Regions from separate parts of the Homo sapiens genome. Here all the other regions are linked to region 1. The links are contacts of gene promoters, found by promoter capture Hi-C in human tissues and cell types (Jung and others, 2019). All regions are on one chromosome and are shown on one strand. The core of a region is centred on a gene start or on the middle of the fragment in contact, and the rest is flanking DNA. Distances in the headings are between cores, read along the strand shown.

Region 1 (5,320 bases), core at 1,333-3,832:
ATCCCCATTCACCATCCACCATCACCTTCCATCCATCCACCATCCATCATCCACCATTCATAACGCACCACCCATCTATCCCAATTCACCATCCACCATCACCTTCCATCCATCTACCACTCATTCATTCACCATTCATTTATCCACCGTCCATTCATGCATACATCCACCATCCATCTATCCACCATTCATCCATCCACCATCCACTCCCACTATCCATCCATCCACCATCTATCCATCCACACATTCACCATCCACCCATCCACAACCTACCATCCATTCATCCACCATTCACTCATCCACCATCCATTCTCCACCATCCATCTACCCATCCATCCCTCTACCCATTCACATATCCACCATCCACTCATCCATCATCCACAATTCACTCATCCAGCGTCCATTCATCCATCCACCCATTCACACATCCACCCATCTACCATCCACCATCCCTTCATCCACCATCCACCCATCATTCACTCACCCACCATCCACCATCCATCCATCCACCCATCTATATGTCCATTCACCCATTCGCCATCCACTCATCCACCACCCACCATTCATCTATCATCCCTCATCCACTGTCTACCATCCACCATTCATCCATCCACCCATTCACCCATCCACCATCCATCCATCCACCATCCACTTATCCACAATCTGCCATCCACCATTCGCCATTCATCCATCCATTCATCCACCACCCATCACCATTCACATCCACCATCGGCCATTCACCATCCACCATCCACCATCCACCTATTCACCATCCACCATTCACTCATTCACCACCCATCCTTCCATCCACCCACCATCCACCACCCACCATCCACCAACCACTATTCATCTTACCATCCACCATCCACCATCTATCATCCACTATCTACCATCTGCCGCCCATCCATCCACTTAATATTCACCATCTACTCATCACCATTCACTTGTCCATTATCCACCACCCACCAACCATCATCCACCTACCATCCATCATCCACCATTTATCCATTATCTACTTATCTACCATCCATTACCCATCCATTTATCATCCTATCCACCATCTACTATCCACCCATTATCCACTATCCACTGTCTATTCACTATCCACCATCTATTCACTATCCACCGTCCATCTCCATCCACAATTCACCATTTATGCAACCATCATCCACCATCTATCCATTTACCATCTATCTATTCACCATCCACCATCCATCCATTCAGCATTCATCACTCACCAAACATCCACCATTTAACACCCACTTTTTTTTTTTTGAGATGGGGTTTCACTCTTGTTGCCCAGGCTGGAGCACAGTGGCGTGATCTCCGATCACCACAACCTCCGCCTTCCAGGTTCAAACGATTCTCCTGCCTTAGCCTCCCAAGTAGCTGGGATTACAGGCATGTGCCACCATGCCTATCTAATTTTGTATTTTTAGTAGAGATGGGGTTTCTCCATGTTGGTCAGGCTGGTCTCGAACTCCCGACCTCAGGTGATCTGCCCGCCTTGGCCTCCCAAAGTGCTGCGGTTACAGGCGTGAGCCACCGTGCCCCGCCAACACCCACTCTTTATGATCTACCTGTCGGCCATGTATCCATTTATGCCATTATCCATCCACCACTCCCTGATTACCATCCATTCCTTTTCCTTTTTTTTTTTTTTTTTTTGAGACGGAGTCTCGCTCTGTCGCTCAGGCTGGAGTGCAGCGCACGATCGTGGCTCACTGCAAGCTCCACCTCCTGGGTTCACGCCGTTCTGCCTCAGCCCCCCAAGTAGCTGGGACTACAGGCGCCTTCTACCATGCCCGGTTAATTTTTTTGTATATTTTTAGTATAGACGGGGTTTCACCGCGTTAGCCAGGATGGTCTTGATCTCCTGACCTCGCGATCCGCCTGCCTCACCCTCCCAAAGTGCTGGGATTACAGGCATGAGCCACCACGCCCGGCCATTCATTCATTTTTCACTCACCATCCTCATCCATCCATTCATCACCCATCCACCCTCTATCACTCACCATCCACCCCGTCAACCATTTACCATTCATCTGCCATGCGTCCATATGCCGTACACCATGCACCATCAATGTTGCTGTCCATCAGCTGTCCCCTACTCACCATCCACTACTCTCCACCATCATCCACAATCCACCCTCCTATACCATCCACATACCATGTTCCATCCAGGATCTTCCTTCTATCATCCAACCACCACCCACAGCCCATGGGACAGGGGCACTGCGTGGAGAAGTGGACACCCAGTTCCAATGGTGAGCAGACTAGCTCAGCCCTAGCAGCACACAGGACAGAGAAAGGGGTGAATTCAAAGGTCGTTTATTCCCCCTCCCGGCAAGACACCCATTTTACAGGGTAGGTCAGTCTCGCCAAGCCCTTCTTCTTTGCCCTTCTTCCTGAGAACCTAAGGTGTTCAGGCCCTGCAGGGGCGGGTAAGGGGAGGCTGAGAAGGTGCCTCCCAGGGGCCTGAAGAGTCGGCCCTGGGCGGGTCTGGAGGTAAATGTGTAACCGACCCTGGTGCCCCCACCCGACCTGCCTGGTCACGTGGGTCCAGTGGGGCAAAGTCTCCTGGTGGGGTGCAAGGAGCCGAGGCGAGATGGGCGTCCTGGGCCGGGTCCTGCTGTGGCTGCAGCTCTGCGGTGAGCCGGGACCACACCGGTGCGGGCCCGGACGGTAGCGGTCTGTCAGGACCCAGGGCCGAGGTCGCTCTAGGCCTGGAGGGTGAAGATCTTCCGAGGAGTGGGCAGGGAGGGCTTTGGAGGGTTGGGGGCGTGAAACTCGGCCCTGCCTCCCTCGTCTGGCGAGTGCGCAGCCCGGAAGTGCGCGGCCAGTGCATCGGGCGGTGCGGGAGAGGAGAGGAGGGGCTCCGGGAACCTCGGCCAGCCCCGGCCTCCGGCGGCTCCTGCCCTCGCGGTTTTTCCGTCTGCGAAATGGGCGCGGTCCCCAGAACCTGCCGAGAGCAGCGAGTGTGCGCCTGCGGGGCTCGGCAGACCGCCTCAGCTTCCCGGTCCCCAAGGGAGCACTGAGCCCTCCTCCGCCTTCACACCAGGCCGGCGCGTGTCCCTGGCGCCCCCTTCCCTAAACCCCTCGCGGCTCCCTCAGGACAACCCCACCCACCACATTCAGGGCCGGCCTGACCTGGTCCTGCCGCCCCCAGCCCCTTCTTACTTCTCATACCGGGTTGCGCTCTGTCGCAGCTCTTCCCGGCCCAGGTAGGACTCCTCCGGGAAGCCTTCCTGATTCCAAGGCCGAGAAGAGGTCTGTGCTGCCCCATCCTCCTCCATGCCCCAGTTGTCACTGTCCTTAACAACGCTGTCCTCTGCTCCAGCGCCAGGCAAACTGGGGGCAGTGCCGGGAGGCTATCTAGGCAGGCGTCCTGCAGGGCGCGTTTGAGCGGGCTCTGCAGGTATCAGTAGAAGTCCGTTGGAGAGCGCCCGGGCAGGGCGCCCACAGTCTGGCCGGGAGGGACCAGGGTCTGGGTCCGGGCCCCCGGGGATGGGGTTCCTATGCGTCCCGGGTGATCCGCGCGGACCTTCCGCACTTCTCTGGGTGGGTGGCCTTCCCTGAGAAGGGAGCATCCCGGAGAGCATCCCGGGCACTCAGTCGCCTCCTCCCCAGCACTGACCCAGGCGGTCTCCAAACTCTGGGTCCCCAACACGGACTTCGACGTCGCAGCCAACTGGAGCCAGAACCGGACCCCGTGCGCCGGCGGCGCCGTTGAGTTCCCGGCGGACAAGGTGCCTGGGAGCGCCGGCGGGGTCGGTGATGGGCCTGGACCCCTGAGACCGTGTGGCCCCGGTGGGGGTTGCTCCCGGCTCGGCTGAGGCAGCTTCTTCCTGCAGATGGTGTCAGTCCTGGTGCAAGAAGGTCACGCCGTCTCAGACATGGTAAGGCCGGGCTGCTACTGCCACTGGGCTGGGGGTTCACAGAGTCTCTGAAGCGCCTTCAGGGACTGCTGTGCCTTGAGGGCGGACCCCACCGGCATGGAGGCACTGCAGGACTGGGACTTTGGCCTCTGGAGAATATTCTAGGAGGCAGGGAGTGGGGGGGAACCTAGGGGAGCTTGGTCCCATGGTCCCAGCCAGGCTGTGTCCTGGGAGGGATGGGAGGCACCCCTGTCCCCACAGCCCTTGTGATGCCCAGCAGTGGGTGGTCTTCCCAGGAAGCGCCTGCTCCATGCCCTTCCCCCAAAGCCTTGCCTTGTCCTGGTGCCTAAAGCTCCATCTTTAGAACACTAGGGAAAGTGTCCCCAACACCCCCCCCTCTACCCACCATCCGGGTCCCTGGCCTGTTAGGAAGTGGCCGCCCAGGAAGAGGCGAGCCCACTCCTGCCTGGCTCTGCCTCCCTTCAGATCAGATCAGATTCTCCTAGGGACCCCTATTGTCACTGCGCCAGCGAGGGGCCTGGGTGGGTGTGCACTCCTTAAGTGGCTGACATCTGAGATGGGACAGCTTAATCCTGAAACCTTCCCCACTCCCATCAGTCCATGGAAGAACTGTCTTCCACAAAACTGGTCCCTGGTGCCAAAAAGGTTGGGGACTGCTGCCCTAGGGGACCTTTTTCTCAAACTGCTTCACACAACACTCCAAGAACATGATGGGAACTGGGAGGAAAGCGGGTTCCATGAGTAGGTAAGTTTGGGAAATGCTGCAGCCTGCACTTTCCTGGAGCTTCATCACGTATTAAAGGCTCTGATAAGGCCCCAGAGAAAGAAGCTAATTTCCTTGTTTAAGGTGGAGTTCCGCAAGCTACAGGCCAAATGCAGCCCCTACGGGTGGAGCAAGGAACGGTTTTTACACTTTGTAATCGTTGGGGAAAAAAAGAACAATCTTTTGTGGCACTTGAAAAATATATGACATTCACACCTCAGCGACAGTAAATACAGCTTCACTGGCACACAGCCTGCCCGCTTGGTTGAGTATCCTCGGTGGCCACTGTCCCATTGCATCGGCAGCCCACCAGCTTCCAGGGTGACTGTGGGGCCTGCAGGCCAAGCCTCTGGGCAAAAGCTTCCTTCCAGCCCCTTCACAGCCACTCCTGGGCTGCGTCCTCATCCTGTCACCTGCACACCTGCCAGCTCAGTCACTCCTGAGTGAGGGTCACTGGTGAGCTGGGTCGGGGTGTCGGCTCCAGATGTGGGGTCCAGGCCTGGGGCCCCCGCGTGTGCGGGTGGGGAGGATGGCTCAATGGGCTTGGCCTGGCCCATTCCTGCCCCATGCGGGGTCAGGGACCCTGGGCCTCATTTCCACCCCAGGGCCGCTTGGTTCCTTCCTTCAGGTTTTCCAAAGCTGCCTTAACCCAAAAGCT
Region 2 (5,320 bases), core at 1,346-3,845, 470 kb before region 1:
GACCCCTTTCTGCAGGAAGCTTCCTGTGGCTGTGCCAGAGCAGCAAGGACCTGTGCAGCGTCAGCGCCCAGAGCGCACAGTCGCGGCCCTCCACGGTGCAGCTGCCTCCCGAAGCCGAGATGCGCGCCTATGCCGCCTGCCAGGATGCGCTGTGGGCGCTGGACAGCCTCGGCCAGGTGTTCATCAGGACGCTCTCCAAGAGCTGCCCCACGGGCATGCACTGGACCAGGCTGGACCTCTCCCAGCTAGGTACGGCCACCTCGTGAGTACACCTGCCGGTGCCCTGACTGCCCTAAACCGGCATCACAACGTGATGTCGGACAAAACTGCCCGGCCTGTGTCCAACCTGTGAGAGTTCTGAGGGGGTGTTTATAAGCTGCTGAATTTCAGGAGCTCAGTTGGCCACTCTTTCAGACTAGACAGGCTCTGGGTTTTGTCCCTTCCCCTGCCCCTTAGAGTTTGCAGGGCTGTCAGAACCCGAGGAGGGTGTGCGTCCTCAGGTCAAGGGGCCACTCGCTGCGAGCGGCTTGAAGGATACTGGTGATGCAGCTGCCCCGTCAGTCTTTCTGAATATGGAACATAGCTTTATGACCTGAAAAGCTGAAAAGATGGGTGTTCCCTATGACAGGATCAGTGCCACGTTTGTCTATCTCCTCAGGACAGTACCTGGCGGAGGAGAGTGGCTCAGCACACAGGTGCTAGCTCTCCTTCAGCTCAGCCAGATATAGGAGGACCTGCATCCACTAGCTCCTGCTTTTCTCTGAATCTTCTATCAAAAGCCGTGGAGTAGGCTAAGAAATGTAGTGCTATTTGTAGGCCGGGCGCAGTGGCTCACACTTGTCATCCCAGCACTTTAGGAGGCTGAGGTGGGTGGATCACCTGAGATCAAGAGTTCGAGACCAGCCTGGCCAACATGGTGACACCCTGTCTCTACTAAAAATACAAAAAAAAATTAGGTGGGCGTGGCAGTGCACGCCTGTAGTCTCAGCTACTCAGGAGGCTGAGGCAGGAGAATTGCTTGAACCCGGGAGGCGGGGGTTGCAGTGAGCCGAGATCATGCCATTGCACTCCAGCCCAGGCAACAGAGCGAGATTCTGTTTCAAAAAAAAAAAAAGAAGAAGAAAGAAAGAAATGTAGTGCTGCTATTTGTAAATAATTCATTCATGTTCCAAGAAATAATAACATAAGCCCACAACATTAGATTTCTCTCTGAGTAGATTCTTGGTGGATCAGGCAGCATAGGTGTGGTTTGCCTGAAGGTGGAGTTGTGCAGATGGCCCCCAGGGCCCGGATGAGCCCTGCACTTGCAGCAGGACTGACTTAGGAACTTCCTGGCTGCAAGGCTTCCCAGTTTTTTTAACTTAGAACCAGCATTTGGTTATGTGGTAGACTTGAATTGTATAAGCATTTAATGTTTGAAAACTCAATCACATGTACTCACCAAAAAAAAAAAAAAAAAAAGGATGGGGAGAAAGAAAGCAAGAAGAGGGCTGGGCACAGTGGCTAATGCCTATAATCCCAGCACTTTGGGAGGCCAAGGAGGGCGGATCACCTGAGGTCAGGAGTTCAAGACCAACCTGGCCAACATGGTGAAACCCCGTCTTTACTAAAAATACAAAAATTACCTGGGTGTGGTGGCACATGCCTGTAATCCCAGCTACTTGGTTGGGAGGCTGAGGCACGAGAATCACTTGAACTTGGTAGGCAGAGGTTGCAGTGAGCTGAGATCCATGCCATTGCACTCCAGCCTGGGTGACAGAGCAAGACTCTGTCTCAAAAGAAAAAAAAAAAAAAGAAAGCAGGAAGAGAAGGGCTTGTTCCCCTTCTCCCCAAGCCCCTGGCTGCATTGCAGTCTGTATGCTACCAGCTGATGAGAGCCTCTTGCCATTCCGTAAAGCAAGCATCGTCCTAGGCTGCCTGGCAGTGGTTGGTGTGCTCAGCCCCGGGGGCTCCTACAGGGTGCTGAGTAGACATCACCCATTCTTTTGCCTGAAAAGGCCCCTGAACACTAACTCAGCTGAAGAAGCAAGTTCTGTTCCAAGGCTTGGGGACTGAAGGTTTGTCCAGGGCAACTTTTGTTCTTTATGCTTTGGGCCTCCCCACCTGCCTTTTGGACCCACCAGTCACCATCTAGCTTTTTGAGAACACCCGCCTCTCCACATCACTGACAGTGACTGATAGACAAGGCTGAGGCTGAGAGTGGCCTGAACATTGGTGCTGACTGACCTGCCGCCTGCCCTGGAAAGCCTTTCATTTGTTCAGAGACCCTACTGGTCCTGAGCCATTCTCCAGCAGCTCCTACCCAGACTAACTGGAAAATGCCGCTAGTTCCCTCTGAGGGTAAAAAGTCCAGGGCTTGGTGTGTATTCTCCCTGCTCCTGAATCTTGAGCACTGTGGGAGGCTGTGTTCACCTGCACCATTTGGGTGAGAAGCAGAACTGCTTCCCTTGCACGTCCCCTTCCCAGCCCCTCCAGGAAGGCTGCTGCACCGTGGTGGGATTCAGAGTGAATGGGCATCATGCCAGGTTCTGCACTGCTGGAGCCAGCCCTGCCTGGGCCTCCTGCCTCCAGCACAGCTCATGCCTCCCTCCTGGCTCGATCCAGTCCTCCCAGCACCGGCTAGCTGGCCAAAGTGGTGCAGGTCTCTAAGGTGTGTATTTGGGCTTCACTGGGAGGTTTCTCTCGGGGAGAAACCTGGCTTGAGTGGGATTGAGTCTCAAGAGTGTGAGGGAAACAGGAACAAGTCCATCCTGAGTCCAAGATGGCCTTGGGCCATCTGGTGTTCAGCAGATACTCATTGAGGGGTTGGGTGTGTGAACAGAGGGATGGCCTGGGGATCCTGGTCGCTGTGGATGGGCAGGTTTTCACTGACCTCCTGTGTTCCGCCTGCAAAATCATTAGCAAATCAATGTCAGTATCCGGCTGACCCCGAAATGAATCAGACAGCAGTGGGTGCAAGGAGGTCACAGGCAGAGGTGTGGGGACTCATGGCAGAGGCAGGACAGAGCTGGGCCCCAGGCGGGCTCTGGACTCTGGGCAAGCTGCTGTCACCTTGAACCGCAATTTCCTCTCCTTTCTTTTTTTTCCAGGTGGGGTCTCACTCTGTCATCCAGGCTAGAGTGCAGTGGCACGATCTTGGCTCACTGCAACCTCTGCCTTCCCAGGCTTAAGCAATCCTCGCACCTCAGCCTCCCAAGTAGCTGGGACCACAGACATGTGCCACCATGCCCACCTAATTTTTTTGTTTTTTGAGACGGAGTTTCGCTCTGTCGCCCAGGCTGGAGTGCAGTGGCACGATCTCGGCTCACTGCAGCCTCTGCCTCCCAGGTTCAAGCAATTCTCCCTGTCTCAACCTCCCGAGTAGCTGAGATTACAGGCACCCACCACCACACCTGGCTAATTTTTTGTATTTTTAGTAGAGACAGGGTTTCACCATGTTGGCCAGTCTGGTCCTGAACTCCTGACCTCAGGTGGTCCGCCTGCCTCCGCCTCCCAAAGTGCTGGGATTACAGGCGTGAGCCACCACGTACAGTCCCTGCTAACTTTTGTATTTTGGGTAGAGATGGGGTTTTATCATGTTGGCCAGGCTAGTCTTGAACTCCTGACCTCAAATGATCCACCTGCCTTGTCCTCCCAACGTGCTGGGATTACAAGTGTGAGCCACCATGCCCGGCCTTGGTTTCCTCTCCTTTCTAATGGGAGCAGCAACCCCCAAGCCCAACCCCCTGGAGGATGCACGGGGCATCCCGTCTAAATGTTGGCCATCTCCGGGCGGTGTGGTCATCCTAAGGCTGTGACACGTCTTGCTTGGGGGTGCTCTCTAGTCTTTGTTAGCTGCTGGTGGTGGGGCTTTTGCTTGTGTTGCCCCAGTTTGTGCCACAGGGAGGACAAATCCAGCATCTCTTGTTAAAGCACCACCTCGCTTAGTCCTTATCCTGCCCTGAACTTTAGATTTTGTTTATTTGAGTTATCTGGTTGATCTTGAAATGTCAGATTAAGACTCCTTTCCTGTTTCCTACACATCCTGAGAGAATGCAGCAAGTCCAGGGTTGGCAGCTTTGTGTTGGGGCAAGGGAGGTGAACAGGCAACCGGGACTCCCAGGCTGTTCCTCTGCACACGCACCTATCCCCTCAACGAGTATCTGCTGAACACTGGAGGGCTCGAGGCCATCTTGGACTCAGGGTGGACTTGTTCCTGTTTCCCTCTCGCTCTTTTTTTTTTTTTTTTTGAGACAGAGTCTCGCTCTGTTGCCCAGGCTGGAGTGCAGTGGCGCAATCTCGGCTCCCTGCAAGCTCTGCCTCCTGGGTTCACGTCATTCTCCTGCCTCAGCCTCCCGAGTAGCTGGGACTACAGGCTCCCAACACCACGCCTGGCTAATTTTTTGTATTTTTAGTAGAGATGGGGTTTCACCGTGTTAGCCAGGATGGTCTTGATCTCCTGACCTCGTGATCTGCTCGCCTCAGCCTCCCAAAGTGCTGGGATTACAGGTGTGAGCTACCGCACCCAGCCTCCCTGTCACTCTTAAGTTGAGACTCAATCTCACTGAAGCTGAGTTTCTCCCCTAGAAAGAACAGCCACCTCCCCAGCCTTCACTATGCCAGGGTAGGGGCAGTGAGCATCAGGCCAGGGGCACCAGGTGTTCAGTTATTAGGCTCTCTCCAGGTATGGTCTGTGTCCTGCAGGAAAAGCAGGTAGGTCAAGAGACTTCTCTTTTTGTTTGTTTGAGACAGAGTCTTACTCTGTTGCCTAGGCTGGAGTGCAGTGACACAATCTTGGCTGACTGCGACCTCCGCCTCCTGGGTTCAAGTGATTCTCCTGCCTCAGCCTCCCGAGTAGCTGGGATGACAGGCATCCACAGCCATGCCCGGCTAATGTTTGTGTTTTTAGTAGAGACGGGGTTTCACCATGTTGGCCAAGCTGGTCTCGAGCTCCTGACCTCAACTGATGCACCCGTCTTGGCCTCCCAAAGTGCTGGGATTACAGGTGTGAGCCACTGCGCCTGACCCAAGAGACCTTTTAATAATTACTTATTTAAGTGAAAATTTTGAATGCAGGTGTGCTGTCTGCCCAGGAGCCCGTGTATGACTGTGCATGGCGGCTGTCATCAGGTGGCATGCATTGAATGGGGATTATTGACTGTAAAGGAGAGTCATCAAGCTGACATGGCTGCTGCCTGTGTTACTTATCTGGAATTAATTGGGGTGCTTCATTTATTTTTTACAAGTCAGCAGTGGGCCGGGTGCAGTGGCTTACACCTGTAATCCTAGCACTTTGGGAGGACTGCTTGAGGCCAGGAATTTAAAACCAACCTGGCCAACA
Region 3 (5,320 bases), core at 1,396-3,895, 410 kb before region 1:
GCCCAGCAGCTCCTGGCGGGCCGAGCCGGCGGCACCCACGGGGGTGTACAGCGCCAGGAGGTCCAGCAGCAGCAGGCGGCGCTGGCGCGGCTCCCCGGGAGCTGAGGCGGGGGCTCCGGCGGCGGAGGGAGTGGCCCCGGCGTCGCGGCCCAGCTGGCGCAGCAGCAGCTCGAGAGGCGTGAGGCCGCCGCCGTCCCGCAGACCGGGCGAGGCGCCGTGGCCCAGCAGCAGGAAGAGGCACTCGGGGCGCGCCAGCTCACAGGCCACGTGCAGCGACGTGCCACCGCCCTCCACGCGGCTGCAGCCACGCCGGTCCAGCACGCGCGCCCGCTCCTCGGCCGGGAAGTCGCGCAAGGTGCGCAGGATGCGGCGCAGAATGCCCACGCGGTTGTAGCGCACTGCCAGCGCCACGTGCGGCCCGGGAGCCGCGCAGCAGCGGAAGCCGGCACTGGGCGGTGCGAGCGCGCGCCGCGGGAACGTGGCCAGCAGGTAATGCGCGTACGCTTGGTGGTCGTGCACGAGCGCGTAGAGCAGCGCCTCAGAGGGCGAGTAGGCGGCGGCGCGCCCGCGCTCGTCCCAGTGGAAGGCCTCGCTGGCGCGCATATCCTCCAGCAGCCACACGGGTAGCAGGTCGCGCACCGCCTGGTAGAAGGCGAACGACGACTTGCGGCACTGCTTCTGCGCTCGCGAGCGCGCCGCGCCCGAGGCCTCGGGCCCGCCGTCCGCGCCACCCCCAGGCCGCCGCGCGTCCCACGGCATGCTGGCGGCGGGGCGTTCCTGGGCCTCAAGGCATGGATCCCGCGAAGGCACACCTGCGGGGAAAGGAAGAGGCCACGGTGAGGCGCGGGGAAACTGGGGAGGCCCGGGGACTCCCCTCTGCCCCTCACACAGCCCCTCCGGTCCTGGCCCACCAGGCCTGTACCTACCTCCAGCCTCGGCCAGGCCCTTCCAGTCACCCTACAGCTCCATCTCTCCGACGCCCAGAACCACCGCCTCCATCCTTGATCTAGCTGTACCTGTTCTCCCTCCTTGAAACTGACTTGCTCTCTGGCACCTCTGCTGGAAATGCCCTTGCTGCCCATGCCCTCAAATCTCCCCTCCCCTCTCCAACCCAGGGACCCACTGGAAGAGCTTCTGTTCCCACCTAAGCCAGGTTCATACGACCCCAAATAAAGAAAAGGCCAGGGAGGGGATGAGAAAGCTTGGGCCCACATCTCAAGCTGAGGCAAATCCACTCTCCAGCCCAAGCGCAACCCTGACCCTGATCTCCGACCCCAGACCACTTGGAGGCCCCTGGAGCCTCTTCCTGGGCTGTTCAGAGGCATGATCCAGACTCAGACCTACCTGGTTCCTGCACCGCGATCACCTAGTTCCGGGGATGTGGGTATATCACAGTCCCTGGCCGAGCCTCAGCTTTATCTGTAAGAAAGGGGAGGGGTGGACGACGGCTGTGCGGGCGGGGTGAGCCTGGGGCGTGGCACCAGCCCTCTATCCAAACATGTTTGCTTACACGTTAGCTCCTGGGAGGAGATAGGAGGGTGAAAACAACCTGGAGACCGGTGTGCACCGCACTGCACAGTCTGCCATCCTCTTCAGGTCCCATACCTCTCTTGATCTCCCCGACTACTAGATGAAGCGGGTACTGCCATCCCACTTTCCAGCAGGGCACAAGCTTCTCCAATTCTCCAAGGTCAGCAAGCCACGGCAGAGCCAGGCCTAGAACTCAGGTCCCCTGCGTCTCAGTTTGGGCTCATTCCAGAATTGGTGGGGACCCCCAACCCACAGGCAATCGAGCTTAGGCCCTGACCCTGCCCTCTGAGTCCCCAGCCCCGACCTGAGCCTAGGCGTCTGACCTCTGGCTCCGTCCCAACCTCCCTACTGCCTTCTTTCAAGGGTAAGCCCTTGGTCACAAGGGGCCTGGGACAGAAGGCAGGCCGCGTCCACACACACTGACTGGGTCACTATCACTGGCAGTAACTGAGTTAAAGAGAGCGGCGCGGTGCGGGTAGGCTGTGGCCCGTGGGCAACACCGTGACTGGAGCCCCTTCCCCAAGCCTGGGCCTCCGGGCCCCAGATATGCCCTGTGCCGGCACGCGTGGGGCGCCGGGCGGGTTACGTAAAGTTCGGCCTCCCCACGTCACCGGGCAGAGTCACGGCCGCGGCTCGTGAATAAGGGGGTTGGGCCATCGAAGGCAGCGCCGCGCCCGGGGCCACCCGCCACCTCCTACCCGTCCCCTCCCGGCCTGCACGGCCAGACGTCGGGCGGCGGAGGGTCGCGGGGCCGAGCGGGGCGTCCGCGCGCAGGTGGCCGGCGCAGCGAGGGCTGCACCTGCGTGCGCGTGTGCCGGAGGAGGAGGGGGCGGCGGCCGCGGGCGCGGCGCGGGGGACGGGGACTCACCATGGGGGGCGCGGGGGCCACAGGCCGGGCGTCCCCGCCCCTGCCGCGGACCGGAGCGCGCGCTGTCCCCCGCGGGCGAGCGGGCAAAGGTCCCACGACGGACGCACGGGAGGGAGCCACCGCCGCCCGCGCCCGCCGCAGCCGCGCTCTGAGCCGCCGCGGCCGGATCGCAGGGCGGCGGTGCCGTCGCCGGCGGCGGGCGGCGGGCGGCGGGCGGCGGGCGGCGCAGTGCGGCCCCGGCCAGGCAGGACAGCGGGACCGTCCGCCGCCGCCATTGGCCCGCGCCGCCGGCCCCCGCCACCACCCATTGGCCGCCGCGCTGCACCATTGTTACGTCACTGGCCGGCGGGCGGGGCGCACCGCTGGACCCGCGGAAAACTTCGGAGAAACTTGAGGGAGCGCCGGCGGGGAGAACGGAGAGGAGGGGCGGGGCCGTGGCGAAAGGGGCGGGGCGTTGATGGGCGGGGGCGGGGCTCCCGGAACCCGAGCTGCGGGCGAAGAAAGGCTCCGAGCTCCGAGCTGCCCTAGCCCGGGAGGGCGCCGCTGCTCTGCGAACTCGGGCGCGCGCGTAGGTGGCCCGCCCTCCGCCGTGCGTGACTTTCCTCGTCGCGTCCAGCTCCCCTTTTCTTTGACCTTACGTGACCTTGGGAAAAACCTCCAGGCTGCTACCCCATCTGCACATGGGAGGGCCGGGGGTAGGAGCCGCGACCCCTAAGGGCTCCACCGCCTTCTGCCCGGCCAGGGTCGTGCCTGGCGCGCCCCCGCTCCAGCTGACCCGCGCAAGGGAGGGAGGGGCGGACGGATGGGGACAGCTGTTTAGGAGCGCGCACTGCGCCCATCTCGGCCTCAACACTCATGTTTCCACTTCGTTTCACGACCACCAGCCACAGTGGACACGATGATCCCCAGTTCACCCGCCAGCAAATCAGGGCTCAGAGAGGTGGCCTCAAAGAGAGGAGCGGCCAGGAGGGAAGCCGGGGGTTTGCCCTGCGGTTCTTCCCACATCTGGGCGGGATAGATTCGATTGGGCCTCGGCCACCCCCACCGTCTCCGTCGGGGGTTCCAAGGTTTGGGGTCATGACCTAGGGGGCTTAGGAGCCTGGGTCCATCTCAACTAATTTATGGCCTCACTCGCCCCCAGCGGCTGGGAATTCTAGGCCCATTTTACAGATGTGGACGCAGATCTGGAGAGGGGCAATGACTGCTCAACCCCCCACCCATCCTCCCAGACACGACCTTCCACCTGGAATCCCCCCACACACGTTCTCAGAGGCCAGGCAGCCGGGGTCTCATGGTGAAATCCCCACATTCCATGCAGGGGCTCTTTCTGGTTCCTTCCCTAGAATGCTGTCCCTGCCCTTCCAGTACTATCTCACCAGGGAGACCCTCCCACTCCCCCACTCCGCTCCAACCAAGCAAGGCCTCTGCCTCGCCCCGGTGGGAGGGGCCTCGTCCAGAGGGCACGCCCCTGCACACACAATCAGCCCTGTCCTGGCTTCTCTGTGTGCCCCAGCCAGTCAGTCTGGGTGGAAGTCTTACCTGGGCCCTCTCAACAGACCTAGGCAGGCCTCTGTCCCCAGCCCAACGAGCTCAATCCCTTAAGCACACACGCCACAGAGCAGTCCTGAGAGGCCAGGTGGACAGTACCATGAGGCAGACAAAGCTGTGAGGCCCAGAGAGGGTCAGGCCACCCCAGCCCAGGTAGGCACTCACATGTATCCTGCCCAGGCTGCCATGCATGGACCCACCAGGGGGATGACCAGACCCCACCAGCCCTGCCCCACCTCAGGGCGGGGGACGTTCCAGGCCACGCCATCTCTCCCAGGGAGTCCATGGCAACTGCCAAGCTTACAGCAGCCAGGTTGTCAGCAGGAGTAGGGGTATAGAGGGCACTGGGCCTGGCATCCGCACCCGCCTTTGCCTCAGCTCCACATGTCTCCTCCTGTATCTAGGCCTATCTCCCTAGGGCTTCTCCCATCTGCCGGTTCTGGATGCCTCTGAGTACGATGGTGGGGAGAGCAAAGTGAGTGAAGGTCCTGGAGTCAACAATCGGCCTTTGGGAGCCCAAACCCTGGGGGACATCTTGGGGAGATGGTGCCCATGTGGGCTGTCTGTGGCTCAAGGCTCCCCTGCTCTCTTGCCCTCTTCGAAGGCTGGAGTTGAGATACAGCCGTCTCCATGGCTACTGGTGGAATGAGGGTGAAAGGGCACCAGTGGATGCCAGGCTGTGCACTGGGCCTCAGGGCGGGTCTCTCTCCACCCCTTGATGTCTTCCCTGCCCCCGTGCCCTGACCTGCCCTCCTCACTGGGGATCCCAGAGGGTTTTTTTTTTTCCCAAGACAAAGTCTCATTCTGTCACCCAGACTGGAGTGCAGTGGTGCAATCTCAGCTCCCTGCAACCTCCACTTCCCAGGTTCAAGCAATTGTCATGCTGCAGCCTCCCAAGTAGCTGCAATTACAGGCATGCACCAGCACTCACAGCTAGTTTTTGTATTTTTAGTAGAGACGGGGTTTTGCCATGTTGGCCAGGCTGGTCTCGAACTCTTGGCCTCAAGTGATCTGCCTGCCCCAGAGACCTTTTTCTAAAAGCCAAGTCTGACCCTGTTTCTCTGCTGCCTAGAAGCTTCCTGTGGACATGGACATAGCCACAAAGTCCAGATGGGCAGAAAGAGGCATTTCTGGCAGAGGGCAAAGCAGGGGCCAAGGTCTGGAGTGTGACACAAAGGCTGCAGAGGCCACCTGACTGGCCAGGTCCCATGGGGCCTGGAATGCCCGGCAAGGATCCTGGATTTTCCCCTGAGGCCCAAGTGGAGGGGTTGGGAAGTGGTTTCACTAGTGAATTATTTTAGACACACATACAAAGAGCATCATGATGCCTGGGAGCCCGGGACCCAGTTGAAGGAGCAACACACGGCAGATCGG
Region 4 (5,320 bases), core at 926-3,425, 270 kb before region 1:
TGTAAAAAATCTGGTTGACGAAATTGGCATTAGGAATGATCCTCAAGAAAATGAATTGGTTATCTAACTTGGTTGTGTATGAAGGCAGTGAAGAAAGGTGAGAGCTTAAAGAATCATAGTGGCCTTGGGCCGGGCGCGGTGGCTCACACCTGTAATCCCAGCACTTTGGGAGGCCGAGATGGGCGGATCACGAGGTCAGGAGATGAGACCATCCTGGCTAACATGGTGAAACCCCGTCTCTACTAAAAATACAAAAAGTTAGCCGGGTGAGGTGGCGGGCACCTGTAGTCCCAGCTACTCAGGAGGCTGAGGCAGGAGAATGGTGTGAACCTGGGAGGTGCAGCTTGCAGGGAGCCGAGATCGCACCACTGCACTCCAGCCTGGGCGACAGAGCGAGACTCCACCGCAAAAAAAAAAAAAAAAAGAATCATAGTGGCCATGGGCATGGTGGCTGGTGCCCATAATCCTGGCACTTTGGGAGGCTGAGGTGGGAGAATCACTTGAGGTCAGGAATTAGAGGCCTGCAGTGAGTGCCACTGCACTTCAGCCTGAGGGACAGAGCACAGAGCAAGATCCTGCTTCAATAAATGGATGGATGGGTGGGTGGGTGGGTGGGTGGATGGAGGAATCATAGTGATCAGCAGTGCTTAATGACTGAGATTAGTCTATTCTGAAGTATGTTAATAAAGCTTGAAGGATCAGAGGAAGAGAGTAGGAAAAAAGCACACACATTCTACAAACCTCGCCACATCCACTCAGTTAAAAGACAGAACAGGATTCCCTTGGATGTTGGGAAAGGGAAGTCAGACGTGAAAGTTGTAGACAGGATTAAGCCACTTAATTTTCCTATTAAATGGACTCTAGAGAGTAAGTTCATGCTTCTCATTTTACTGATGGAGAAGCAGTACCACATACTTGGTGAAATTCCTGTGTCTGCAAAACATTGGTTATTCTGCAATTGTTATATATAAAGGGATAAACATTGAAGTTATTGGTCTCTTCCTTCTCATTGGTATTGTGGGTGTTCTTTACCAACTGAGTTAGGAACTGACTTGAGATATTTTAAACTTACGGGACTTGATTTAGAGCACTTACTCTTAGATGTTAAATATTTGGTTTGCTCTTTATTGAATAACTTAATTATCTTATTACTAATAATTCCTGTATTAGACAATGAGACTTAGACTCATAATAGAATACAGGTATCTTAATGAGAATGTTCTCATTTAAAACACTAACTCCTAATTCACTAGCAGCTAATAAAACTAACATTGTTGCACAGTACATTGTTGACTAGTTAGAAGAATTTGACAGTATGTTTGGTGCTGAGACCAGCTCGGTCGGGGAGACCCTAACCCAGCGGCGCTAGAGGAATTAAAGACACACACACACAAATATAGAGGTGTGAAGTGGGAAATCAGGGGTCTCACAGCCTTCAGAGCTGAGTATTGCTATTAATAAAGGGTGTAGAATTTGAAAATAGGCCAGGCGTGGTGGCCCACGCCTGTAATCCCAGCACTTTAGGAGGCCGAGGAAGGCGGATCATGAGGTCAGGAGGTTGAGATGAGCCTGACCAACACAGTGAAACCCCGTCTCTACTAAAAATACAAAAATTAGCTGGGCGTGGTGGCGGGTGCCTGTAATCCCAGCTGCTCAGGAGGTTGAGGCAGGAGAATTGCTTGAACCTGGAAGGCAGAGGTTGCAGTGAGCCGAGATTGCGCCACTGCACTCTAGCCTGGGCAACAGAGTGAGACTCCATCTCAAAAAAAAAAAAGAAAAAGAAAAAAGAATTTGAAAATAGCTTGAGAGACTAGAGAAGAAGTGAACTGATTTATTTTATATTTATGTATCTTATTTTTTGGCTTGTTGACCAGAAGTGAATTGATATGAATAAGCACACTTGCAAAATAAATGGGTTATTTATTTATTTATAGAGACAGGGTCTTGCTTTGTTTCCCAGGCTAGAGTACAGTGGCACCATCATAGCTCACTACTGCTGCTGGCAACTTCTGGGCTCAACGGGTCCTCCTGTCTTGACCTCCCAAAGTGCTGGGATTATAGGCATGAGCCGTCATGCCTGGCCCCCTAATTATTTAGATAGCCCTGTAGACCTGATTTCTTGTGGCTGAAGGTCTCTCAAATTGATTCTCAGTAGGCTTCATAAATAAAAGGGAACTTACACTGGAGGATCTTTATGCTGAATTGGCTTAGAATAAGTAGAAATTGCTAGGAATGTTTTATTTTTGTTTATTTAATTTGCTAAATCTGCTTTAGATATGAGCCTTGTAACTGGATTTCTTAAAAGTGTCCTTATGATTGAATCTATTTGTGGTGTTTGGATTGATTATTTTAAGTTCCTACTATGTACCAGACGTTTGCTACTTGTTTTAACTTGCTGTTTAATCTCTTTGAAGAAGGAACTGTTTCCTCCATTTTTATAGAAGAGAAAATTGAAACTTAAAGAGATTAGAGAACTCTCCTTCAGTCTAGGCAGAGCTGGGATTCCATTTCAGGACTGTTATGCTACACCAAATAAATGCTTGCTGCGTTAAAGAATGACTTAACAGTGAACACCTTAAGTCTTCATTGCCCAGTTACGTGAATGGAAGAAAGGCTGAGCAGTGAATTACAAACACTCTCTCCTCTAGTCTTCTGGCAGTGTTCCTTTACCTAATTCTGTGTCCTCAAACGCCCTGTTTTCTTTAGGTGATTATATTATTTGTTTCTTTTAAGCTTGCCTGTCTGCTTGTTCTTCTGAACAGTTCCCTTCAAATGTTACACCATCCACCCACATCTGTATTTCAGTATTTTATTGTGTCCTTTCATTGAGACTCTAATTTGGGTGAAAATTCTCCAAACTACATTTCTTTTTAGCATATTCTATTTTTGTCACCTAGAATCAGCCTCCCAGCTGACTTTTTCCCATAGATACGTAACAACCACCTGCTTTAACATTTTCTATCTTCCACTTAACAAAAATATTACTGTTGATAAATAATGAATACTTAGCATGTATAACTGTGCAAATAAAATGGGAGGAATGTGTATCGGGAAGATTTGAGGGGAGTGTGGATAAAAAACTGTTTGAAAATACCAGCTGTTGAATTTTATAGTGTTACTCTTTTTATTTTTATTTTTTAGTTTTATTATTACTATTTTTTGAGATGGAGTTTCGCTTTGTCGCCAGGCTGGAGTGCAGTGACGTGATCTTGGCTCACTGCAACCTCTATCTCCTGGGTTCAAGCGATTCTCCTGCCTCAGCCTCCCGAGTAGCTGGAACTAGAGGCGCGCGCCAGCCAATTTTTGTATTTTTAGTAGAGACAGGGTTTCACCATGTTGGCAAGGATGATCTCGATCTCTTGACCTCATGATCTTCCTGCCTCGGCCTCCCAAAGTGCTGGGATTACAGGCGTGAGCTACTGCACCCAGCCTATTATTATTTTTTAATTGAGACTTGTCTTACTTTCACCCAGGCTGGAGTGTAGTGGTGCAATCTTGCCTCACTGGAGCCTCCGCCTCCTGGGCTCAATCGATCCTCCCACCTCAGCCTCCTGAGTAGCTGGGACCACAGGCACTCGCTACCGTGCCCAGCTAATTTTTTCTATTTTTGGTAGAGACAGGGTTTTGCCACGTTGTCCAGGCTGGCCTCGGCTTCCCAAAGCGTTGGGATTACAGGCATGAGCCACCACGTGCAGCCTATAGTGTTATTCTTTAGTAGTTCCTAAAAGGCTTGTGTTAGATGTTTATAGCTGATAGTTGTGGTTTGAATCTGTGTCCCCAGCCAAATCTTGTGTCGAATTGTCATCCCCAGTGTTGGAGGTGGGGGCCCATGATTGGATCATGGGGGTGGATATCCCCCTTGGTGCTATTTTCATGATAGTGAGTGAGCTCTCGGGCGATCGGGTCGTCTAAAAGTGTGTAGCACCTCCCTCTTGTCTCTCTTGCTCCTCCTCTGGCCATGTTATATGTGCTTGCTTTCCCTTTGCCTTCCACCATGATTATAAGTTTACTGAGGCCTCCCTAGAAGCTGAGCAGATGCCAGCATCATGCTTCCTGTACAGCCTGCAGAACCTTGAGCCATTGAAACCTCTTCTCTTTATAAATTACCTAGTCTCATCTCAGGTATTTCCTTCTTTCTTTCTTTCTTTCTTTCTTTCTTTCTTTCTTTCTTTCTTTCTTTCTTTCTTTCTTTCTTTTTTTTTTTTTTTTTTTTGAGACGGAGTCTGGCTCTGTCGCCCAGGCCGGAGTGCAGTGGTGCGATCTCCACTCACTGCAAGCTCTGCCTCCCGGGTTCACGCCATTCTCCTGCCTCAGCCTCCCGAGTAGCTGGGACTACAGGTGCCTGCCACCACGCCTGGCTAATTTTTTGTATTTTTAGTAGAGACAGGGTTTCACCGTGTTAGCCAGGATGGTTTCGAACTCCTGACCTCAGGTGATCTGCCCGCCTCAGCCTCCCAAAGTGTCGGGATTACAGGTCTGAGCCATTGCGCCCGGCCAGGTATTTTTTTATAGCAGTGTGAGAACAGACTAATACAATAGCCATCATGTAAAATACAGTTTCCATTTTGAGCCAGGCACTTGGGTAAAAATGAAGAGTAGGTAAAAGACAAGATGTAGTTCTAATTTGAGCTTGTCATTTAGTATTTGAGTAATGCCGCATAATGGCTGTGGGTTTCCGATGACACACACCTTTTCATGATGTGGGTGGCCTAGGGAGTAGTGTGTTTGTTGGAACCACAGTTCTCTGCAGAGGGAATATGATTAAGTCTGATCTTTGTAATTTAGAATTAATGAGGCCAGGCGCACTAGCTGACACCTGTAATACCAGCACTTTGAGAGGCGAAGATGGGGAGGATCACTTGAGCCTGAGTTTGAGACCAGCCTGGGCAAGATAGTGAGAACCTGTCTCTACAAGAAAATAAAGAAAAAAATTTTTAAAAAAAGAAAAAAAATATAGAATTGGTATCTTGGCCACACCTCTTTCCCTGTGGTTGAGTTTTTTTTTTTTTTTTTTTTCCTGTTCTTTTCCTTTTTTTTTGAGACAAGATCTCTTCGTCACCTAGGCTGGAGTGCAGTGACATGATCAAGGCTTGCTGCAGTGTCAGTCTCCTGGGCTTAAAGGATCCTCCTGTCTCAGTCTCCCAAGTAGCTGGGACTGGAGGTAGGTGACACTAGCCTGGCTCACTTTAAAAACATTTTTTGTAGAGATAAGGTCTTGCCATGTTGCCCAGGGTGGTCTCAAACTCCTGGCCTCAAGCCATCCTCCCTCCTCAGCCTCCCAAAGTGCTGGGGTCTCTGGCATTCACCACCGCGGACAACC

What was found. The method cuts DNA at HindIII sites, captures the fragments that hold promoters and counts their contacts. A contact is called where the count stands out against the background at its distance.
Region 2: a contact is called between a fragment that was not itself captured here and the fragment with the promoter of AMN in region 1, in 2 of the 25 tissues and cell types used here (dorsolateral prefrontal cortex and mesendoderm cells).
Region 3: the fragment with the promoter of ANKRD9 here is called in contact with the fragment with the promoter of AMN in region 1 in 1 of the 25 tissues and cell types used here (mesendoderm cells).
Region 4: a fragment that was not itself captured here is called in contact with the fragment with the promoter of AMN in region 1 in 2 of the 25 tissues and cell types used here (H1 embryonic stem cells and dorsolateral prefrontal cortex).

The regions. Positions count from the first base shown.
Region 1 is chr14:102,920,081-102,925,400 of GRCh38, forward strand. It overlaps AMN (amnion associated transmembrane protein), which reads left to right and starts at 2,583. Exons shown (of 12, transcript NM_030943.4): 1 at 2,583-2,651; 2 at 3,631-3,749; 3 at 3,855-3,899. The coding sequence starts at 2,609. RefSeq lists silencers at 2,807-3,006, 4,170-4,368. The HindIII fragment of the contact is 38,072 bases long and covers 1-5,320 here.
Region 2 is chr14:102,452,379-102,457,698 of GRCh38, forward strand. TECPR2 (tectonin beta-propeller repeat containing 2) reads left to right here. Exons shown (of 20, transcript NM_014844.5): 16 at 16-249. Among named protein-coding and RNA genes, the nearest start is that of ANKRD9, 55 kb to the right of the region's middle. The HindIII fragment of the contact is 7,609 bases long and covers 1-5,320 here.
Region 3 is chr14:102,507,131-102,512,450 of GRCh38, forward strand. ANKRD9 (ankyrin repeat domain 9) reads right to left here and starts at 2,646. Exons shown (of 4, transcript NM_152326.4): 1 at 2,399-2,646; 2 at 1,511-1,716; 3 at 1,345-1,419; 4 at 1-812. The coding sequence starts at 759. LOC105370679 (a long non-coding RNA gene) reads left to right here and starts at 2,913. Exons shown (of 4, transcript XR_007064352.1): 1 at 2,913-4,421; 2 at 5,248-5,320. RefSeq lists silencers at 1,434-1,595, 2,590-3,029, 3,190-3,239 and enhancers at 2,720-3,363, 3,364-4,009, 4,010-4,653. The HindIII fragment of the contact is 3,197 bases long and covers 1,437-4,633 here.
Region 4 is chr14:102,649,791-102,655,110 of GRCh38, forward strand. The region is part of intron 2 of RCOR1 (REST corepressor 1); the gene reads left to right. Among named protein-coding and RNA genes, the nearest start is that of RCOR1, 60 kb to the left of the region's middle. RefSeq lists an enhancer at 3,478-3,977. The HindIII fragment of the contact is 4,634 bases long and covers 1-4,492 here.